Regions from separate parts of the Homo sapiens genome. Here region 2 is linked to region 1. The links are contacts of gene promoters, found by promoter capture Hi-C in blood cells and fetal thymus (Javierre and others, 2016). All regions are on one chromosome and are shown on one strand. Each heading gives the region's core, a stretch centred on a gene start or on the middle of the fragment in contact. The rest is flanking DNA. Distances are from core to core; before and after follow the strand shown. Region 1 holds the start of VIL1 (villin 1). Region 2 overlaps PNKD (PNKD metallo-beta-lactamase domain containing).

Evidence for each region. The method cuts DNA at HindIII sites, captures the fragments that hold promoters and counts their contacts. A CHiCAGO score of 5 or more calls a contact.
Region 2: a contact is called between a fragment that was not itself captured here and the fragment with the promoter of VIL1 in region 1, in 2 of 17 cell types (monocytes and neutrophils). The highest score is 6.8, in monocytes.

Annotation. Positions count from the first base shown.
Region 1 is chr2:218,416,405-218,420,657 of GRCh38, reverse strand. VIL1 (villin 1) reads right to left here and starts at 1,535. Exons shown (of 20, transcript NM_007127.3): 1 at 1,490-1,535. The HindIII fragment of the contact is 19,335 bases long and covers 1-4,253 here.
Region 2 is chr2:218,345,182-218,349,389 of GRCh38, reverse strand. PNKD (PNKD metallo-beta-lactamase domain containing) reads right to left here. Exons shown (of 10, transcript NM_015488.5): 10 at 2,597-4,208. All of the region lies in intron 2 of CATIP-AS2 (CATIP antisense RNA 2), which reads left to right. Among named protein-coding and RNA genes, the nearest start is that of MIR6810, 5.4 kb to the right of the region's middle. RefSeq lists an enhancer at 1-476. The HindIII fragment of the contact is 175 bases long and covers 1,882-2,056 here.

The DNA.
Region 1 (4,253 bases), core at 286-2,785:
GCTGAGATCACGCCACTGCACTCCAGCCTGGATGAAAGAGTGAGACTCCTTCTCAAAAAAAAAACAAAAAAAAAAAAAACAAATACTCATGATGCTGAAAGGCTGAACTGTGGGATGGAAGGAGGACCCTCCCAGGGCACTGGAGGGGTTTGGGCTCCCACTGTCTGCAGGTCCATCTTGCCTTTCTTTCTTTTTTCTTTTTTTCTTTTCTTTTTTTTTTTTTTTTTTTGAGACAGAGTCTCACTCTGTCACCCAGGCTGGAGTGCAATGGTGCAATTCTGGCTCACTGTCATCTCCGCCTCCTGGGTTCAAGCGATTCTCGTGCCTCAGCCTCCCGAGTAGCTGGGACTATAGGCGTGCGCGAGCACACCCAGCTAATTATGTATTTTTAGTAGAAACGGGGTTTCACTATGTTGGTCAGGCTGGTCTTGAAGTCCTGACCTCAAGTGATCCACCCCACTTGGCCTCCCAAAGTGCTGGGATTCCAAGCATGAGGCTCTGCACCTGGCCCACCATGCCTTTCTTATCTGAGCCCTGTTGTACTTGAGTTGCGGCTCTGTTGTAAGTGGGGTGCTGCCACGGCTCCTAGTTCCCAGTCGTGCAGCTCTGAGCTGGACAGGAATGTGGTGGGGCAGTGGGGGTGAAGTCCCACCCCTCAGACAAAGGACATCCTCCTGCTTCCCAGGCTCATGATAGAAGAGGGAATGGACACCCGCCAAGACCCTCCAGCCCAAAGGCTCTGCCCCAGCAGATGATGTCCCGAGAAGACAGCAGCCAGTGTGTCCTCAGAGCCTGGTCTGCAGCTAGCTCCCATTCCTAGTTCTGCTGAATGGGCCCACAGTGGCTGGGGAGGCCAATGGGGCAGCTCCGGGTAGAGGGGAGATGGGGCAGAGGTGCATGCTAGGGTGGCCCGGCATGGCCCAGGACCTAAGGCCCTGCCACCTCCAGCCCCTTGCCTCTGCCCTTGCCTCTGTGTGTGCCCATTCAATTGCTGGTGGCTGTTGCTCATATGCTAGGAGCCAGGAGGCAGGACCCGGAGGTCCCAGGAGTGTCAGAGGAATGGTGACACAAAGAAAAAAACACTTCAGATGAAGAACGCACGGGCAAAGAGATGAGCTGGTGGGGAGGGGGCTCGGGGAGTGAGGTCAGGGAGACCAACTAGTCCCGGTCTGCCCAGCACTGTCCTGGTTTTAACTCTAGAAGTTCCAGGGCAATTGGGATGGTGACACCCAAAGTGGGATGGGGCTAGCCACAGGTAGGAGACTGAGAGAGCCATTGTCTGGGGCAGGGCCTGCAAAAGTCTCTCCCTGGAGGCCCAGGGCAGACACACTGGGCTCCCAGCACTTCTCACGCTATCCAGAGTGTCAAGCCTCCCCTTCGAGCCCGTACCAAGGTGCTCCAGGAGGCCCCAAGTTGCCCGAGAAAAGCAGAGGACCCCGTCCCCTCGCACCACCTAAGGTCTCCATGTGTTCCCACCAGGTTGCCTTACCTGTCTTGGGGAGGCAGCTGCCACCTGGGAGATCTCAGGGAATTGTGGCAAGCTGGCTGCAGAAGAGCGACCTTTGTCCCCACCCCCCCTCCTCTAGGAACTGCCTTCACCATATAAGGGAAGATAGGGCCCCAGAGAGGTGAGGGGGTGGGGAGGCAGGTGCTGCCAGGTCCCTGGGAGCCCAGAGCCCTCCACAGCCTGACAATGAGAGCTGATGTGCCCCACCCTTGGCTTTTTTTTTTTTTTGAGCCTCACTCTGTCATTCAGGCTGGAGTGCAGTGGTATGAATTCGACTCACTGCAACCTCCGCCTCCCAAGTTCAAGTGATTCTCCTGCCTCAGCTTCCCAAGTAACTGGGACTACAGACATGTGCCACCATGCCTGGCTAATTTTTGTATATTTAGCAGAGACAGGGTTTCACCATGTTGGCCAGGCTGGACTTGAACTCCTGACCTCAAATGATCCACCTGCCTCGACCTCCCAAAGTGCTGGGATTACAGGTGTGAGGCCCGGCGCCCAGCCCCTCCCTTGGCTTCTGAGTGAGCAAGGGATGGGGTGCTTTTCTGCCCAGGGCCCAGGCCCTCACCACAGGCAGACAGCACTGTCCAGGTAGGGTCAGCGGCGCCTGAACCTTTCCTCCTACCAACCAAGAGAAGGAGGCTCAGCTGTCCTCCCACCTGCCCTGGGGTGAATGGTTCATGGAGAAAGAGAGGCAGGACTCTAGGGTTGCAGAAGCCCCAAACCCAGGAATGCAGGGACTTATACTCAGGGCCCCTCCAGAACAGATGGGAGGTCTCTTAGAGGTCTCCTAGAGGTCTCTTCTCAGCATGACCCTCACTTAGCAAGGGCCCCAGTGAGCACAACTGCTCCTCCTCTCCACCCTTAGGGGCACTGGCTCCACCTGGAGTGTTTTTTTTGTTTTCGTTTTTTTTGCTGAGATGGAGTCTGTCTCTGTCGCCCAGGCTGGAGTGCAGTGGCGTGATCTCATCTCACTGCATCCTCCGCCTCCTGGGTTCAAGTGATTCTCCTGCCTCAGCCTCCCGAGTAGCTGGGATTACAGCCGCACACCACCACGCCCAGCTAATTTTTGTATTTTTAGTAGAGACGGGGTTTCACCATGTCGGCCAGGCTGGTCTTGAACTCTTGACCTCGTGATCCGCCCACCTCGGCCTCCCAAAGTGCTGGGATTACAGGCGTGAGCCACTGCACCCGGCCCACCTGGAGTTTTTATGAGATGCCATAAACCAGTGCCTTTGAACTCTGTTCTGCTACCCTCTCCCAGAAGCCAAGGTTTCCATGTCTGACCCCTGACCCTAGGGGATCCATCTCACTCAGGCAGGAAAGTTGTGCAGCCAACTCCAGCGTGGATCTCGCTGAGAAACCAGCTTCACACGCAAACTCAGCACCTTGGGCAGCTGCCTCCCAGACTGCAGAAATTCTCCTATCACCTGTGAAGCCTGGTCCTTAGGAGGGTGACGTGAAGTGGGCTGGGTGAGGGCAGTACGTCCTTCTCATCACAGCCTCCCAAGAGTTCTGGAGACCAAATGTACAGTAGTCCCCCCCTTATCCAACGGGGGATACATTCCAGGACCCGCAGTGGATGCCTTAAAACCTCGGATCGTACCGAACCTGGCTGCCATCAGCTGGAGCATGTTTCTGTTCGTGTCTTCCACCCACAAATTGAAGCCCCTTCTATTTTCATTAGCACTTATCCTGCACTGTGGCTGCATTTTGCAGTTTGAGGTACACCAGCAAAATTAACACAAATTTCTGTTTCCTTCTTCACAATTTCATGAACAGAAGATGCATTCTTATCATAGATCTTAGCAACCTCAGTATATGATGTTTTTTGTTCTTTCCTTATTGAGAACTATTACCTTTTCATTTAAAGGAAACATTTTATGGCTTCTTTTTGGCACTTCCAAATTGCCAGCATCGCTACTCTTGCATTATTTAGTAAAATAAGTGTTACTTTGGGTGGGGGGTTGTCTTTATTTTTGTTTTTTGGAGATGAAGTCTCGCTCTGTCACCGAGGCTGGAGTGCAATGGCATGATCTCGGCTCACAGCAACATCTGCCTCCTGGGTTCAAGCAATTCTCCCATCTCAGCCTCCCGAGTAGCTGGACTACAGGTGCATACCACCACACCCAGCTAATTTTTCTTGTATTTTTATCAGAGACATGGTTTCACCATGTTGGCCAGGCTGGTCTCAAACTCCTAACCTCAAGTGATCCGCCCACCTAGGCCTCCCAAAGTGCTGGGATTACAGGCGTGAGCCACTGCGCCCGGCCCAATAAGGGTTACTTTGAACACAAGCCCTGCAATGCCATGACAGTGGATCTGATAGCCCACACGGCTGCTAAATGCCCATCAGGGAGCATGCAGCATGTGGAGGTAGTGGACAAAGGGATGACTCACGTTTCAGGTGGGATGGAGTGGGGCGGTGGGAGATCCCATCACGCTACTGAGAATACTGTGTAATTTAAAACTTATGAATGGTTTATTTCTAGAATTTTCCATGTAGTATTTTCAGAACATGGTTGACTATGAGGTACCTGAATTGGTGGATAAAGGGAGACTGCTGTGTGTTTGCGCACATGTGGGCATGTGTGCACTATATGTGTGTGCACACGCTCATGTGTTGTCTGGAAAGAGGAGTAAACACTGGAGTTGCTATTTTGTTTCTTTTAAAAAAAAAAATCGCTGGGTGTGGTGGTGCACACCTGTAATCCCCGCTACAAGGGAGGCTGAAGCACAATAATTG
Region 2 (4,208 bases), core at 720-3,219, 72 kb after region 1:
CCACTGCACTCCAGTCTTGGGCAACAGAGCAAGACTCAGTCTCAAAAAAAAAAAAAAAAAAAAAAGAAAGAAATTGGCAGGTGAGGTGGCTCACGCCCCTGTAATCCTGGCACTTTGGGAGGCTGAGGTGGGCGGATCACAAGGTCAGGAGATCAAGGCCATCCTGGCTAACACGGTGAAACCCTGTCTCGACTAAAAATACGAAAAATTAGCTGGGTGTGTGGCATGCACCTGTAGTCCCAGCTACTTGGGAGGCTGAGGCAGGAGAATCGCTTGAACCCGGGAGGTGGAGGTTGTAGTGAGCCGAGATCGCACCACTGCACTCCAGCCTGGTGACAGAGGGAGACTCTGTCTCAAAAAACAAAAAAAAGAAGACAGCCGCCCCGTCCGGGAGGGAGGCGGGGTCCAGCCCCCGGCCGGCCAGCCGCCCCATCAGGGAGGGAGGGGGGGACAGCCCCCGCCCGGCCAGCCGCCCCGTCCGGGAGGTTGGGGGCGCCTCCGCCCGGCCGCCGCCCCGTTGGGAGGTGGGGGGCGCCTCTGCCCGGCCACCCCTTCTGGGAAGTGAGGAGCCCCTCTGCCTGGCGGCCACCCCATCTGGGAGGTGTACCCAACAGCTCATTGAGAACGGGCCATGATGACGATGGTGGTTTTGTGGAATAGAAAAGGGGGAAATGCGGGGAAAAGATAGAGAAATCAGATTGTTGCTGTGTCTGTGTAGAAAGAAGTAGACATAGGAGACTCCATTTTGTTCCGTACTAAGAAAAATTCTTCTGCCTTGGGATGCTGTTGATCTATGACCTTACCCCCAACCCTGTGCTCTCTGAAACATGTGCTGTGTCCACTCAGGGTTAAATGGATTAAGGGCGGTGCAAGATGTGCTTTGTTAAACAGATGCTCGAAGGCAGCATGCTCGTTAAGAGTCATCACCACTCCCTAATCTCAAGTACCCAGGGACACAAACACTGCGGAAGGCCGCAGGGTCCTCTGCCTAGGAAAACCAGAGACCTTTGTTCACTTGTTTATCTGCTGACCTTCCCTCCACTATTGTCCTATAACCCTGCCAAATCCCCCTCTGCGAGAAACACCCAAGAATGATCAATTAAAAATAAATAAATAAATAAATAAAAGAAGACATACATGTGGACAACAAACATATGAATAAAAGCTCAACATCACTCATCATTAGAGAAATGCAAATCAAAACCACAATGAGATACCATCTCACACAAGTCAGAATGGCTGTTATTAAAAAGTCAAAAAATAACAGACGCTGGAAAGGTTGTAGAGTAAAAGGAACGCTTATACACTGTTGGCGGGAGTGTAAATTTGTTCAACCAAAGTGGAAGACAGTGTGGTGTTTCCTCAAAGACCTAAAGACAGAACTACCATTCGACCCAGCAATCCCATTACTGGTTATATACCCAAAGGAATATAAGTTGTTCTATTATAATGATATGGTGTGGCTTTTTGTCCCCACCCAAATTTCATCTTTTTTTTTTTTGGGACAGAATCTCCCTCTGTTGCCCAGGCTGGAGTACAGTGGTGCGATCTTGGCCTACTTCAACCTCTGCCTCCCGGGTTCAGCGATTCTCGTGCCTCAGTCTCCTGGGTAGCTGGGATTACAGGCGCTCACCATCATGCCTTGCTAAGTTTTGTATTTTTAGTAGAGACGGGGTTTCACCATGTTGGCCAGGATGGTCGTGATCTCCTGACCTCGTGATCCGCCTGCCTCAGCCTCCCAAAGTGCTGGGATTACAGGCGTGAGCCACCACGCCCGGCCCTTTAATCATTTTTATGAACTGAAAACCAGTGTCACTTGTCAAAAATAAATATTGAACCCAAATATAAATATAATGAAAACAAAACGATGTTGTTAAAGCTTAACTACAGACATTTCCCAACTAAAGTATGAACCTGGATCCCGGGTCTTTCTTTCCAAAGACATTAAAGACAGACTAGTGCCAAGACCGTGTCCTTGAAGTCCAATTGATTGCTGTGCTGTGGCCATGTACAGCCACCCTACTTTGGCCAGTGGTACACTTGTGTATCTCAAGCTTTGGGAAACATTGAGATAAGCAAATCGTAAACCCTGAACAAATGCCCATGGGCCTTGGGAAGAACATATTTTAGGCATCATTTCTCTCTCTCTTTTTAAAAAAATTTTTTTTTTTTTTGAGACAGAGTCTCATTCTGTCGCCCAGGCTGGAGTGCAGTGGTGCGATCTCGGCTCACTGCAACCTCCGCCTCCTGGGTTCACGTGATTCTCCTGCCTCAGCCTCCTGAGTAGCTGGGATTATAGGCTCCTGCCACTATGTCTGGCTAATTTTTTGTATTTGTAGTACAGATGAGGTTTCACTATGTTGGCCAGACTGGTCTCGAACTCCTGACCTTGTGATCCACCCGCCTCAGCCTCCTAAAGAGCTGGGATTATAGGTGTGAGCCACTGCGCCCAGCCTTTGGGCATCATTTCTGATCAAAACTCTTGAAGTGCCTAACTGCAAGTTAGCAGGCCTGGAACTGAGATGGGAAAACTGTGAGAAAGTTCTCTGCTGTTTTCACTCATGTAGCAACAAAGACAAGCTGTTGGGTGATCAAGTCTTGATTAAATCATTCATTCATTCAACATTTATTGAGCGCCTACTGTGTGCTAGGCACCGTGCTAGGCGCAGAAATACAGAGATGCATAAGATACAGTCCATGCCCTTAAGGATTCACAGTCTAGAAGGGGAGACAAACATGTAAACAAGTAAAATACAGTGTGATAAGTGCCACAAGAGAAGCATTGACAAAGTGCAGAGGTAGCCTGGAGGGGAGGGGCACAGGGGTTGCCTTCCTGGAGGAGGGGGCCTTTGAGGGGATCGTGAGAGATGAACTTGCCAGGCAGACAAGGCAGGAGGAGCAGGGGAAGGCATTCCAGTCGGAAGAAACAGCATGAGCGAAGGCACAGAGGCATGAAACTGCATGTCTTGCTTGGTGAGTGGGGAACTCTAACTAGTCTGGTGGTATTGCTAAAGTGTACTAGAGGCTGTGGCTAGAGAAGGGGGCAGAGGCCAGATCATGAGGGGAAACTGAGGGCAGGGGCATCTTGGAGGGTCACCAGAGGTGAGCAGAGCCCGAGGGCAGGCTTTGACACAGGAAAAGAGGGCTCCTGGCTGACTCAAGGTACACCTGCCTGAGGACCACAGGGTTCCTCGCTGTGGCTCCAAAGGGATCTCGACCCAAGAGTAGAGGAGCAGCAGAGCTGGAGGTGAAGCAGAGGGGTCGGGCCAGGTCTGGGACCCAGAGCTGCCATGCACTCCCGCGCTCTCACAGACTTCTGATTTCCAACCTGCACGTCAGAGCCCCCTCCTGCCAGCCGGATGGGGGCCTGGATCCAGTGGGAAATCACATGGGAATATGGCTGGCAAACTGCAAAGGGCCAGATGAGTGTCAGGTTACAGAATAAATCTTTACTAACTCAAAGAAGAAAAGGGCTGCGGATAAAACAGGAAAGGTTAGATGGAGGAAGGCGGGCAGACGGGCCTAAGAACAAGGGCCAAAATGAGAATACAGCATCGGCCAAAGAGGACCGTGGCTGTCTCTCCCCTGGCAAGGAGGGGCCCTTTTGGCCCAGGGCAGAGGCAGAGGCCAGTGGGTACAACCAGGCCAGATGTGCAAGGAGAGCATGTGACCTGCAAGACTGTGGGGCTCCACACTCCAGACTCCAGTGTCTCCTTAGCCCAATGAGGAGGTTTCCTTGGCAATCAGGACCCTCCTTCTTCCAGGCTGTAGGGAGGCCACTGAGGCAGAGAGTGGCCAGCCAGCATTCCAGCCCTTCAGTGTTCTTAGGAATGGCTCTGTCTGAAAAATGGCTTTGCAGGGATGGGTGGGGCAGGGAGGCTGTGGGAAGAGGGCAGAGTCTCAGGACACCAGAGTCCAGCTGCCCATCTGAGTGGTGCTTTTGTAAGGCATCACACTTGAGGCCACTGTGAGGGGCTGAGCTTCTTTCCCAACCATGGATGGGGGAAGGGCAAGATGGACCCTGGGTTCCAGGGCTACAGTGAGATGAGGCCTCCTGACGGAGAAGCTAACAGCAGCCCCCATGTCCTTGCTGCCGTCCCAGGAGTAGGGAAGGAGGAGGGGACCCTCCCAGTTGGTAGGGTCTGGAGATGTCCCGAGACCCCTCCTTTCCTCTTGCCGTTGATGAGGCAGCCTCGCGCTGCGGGGTT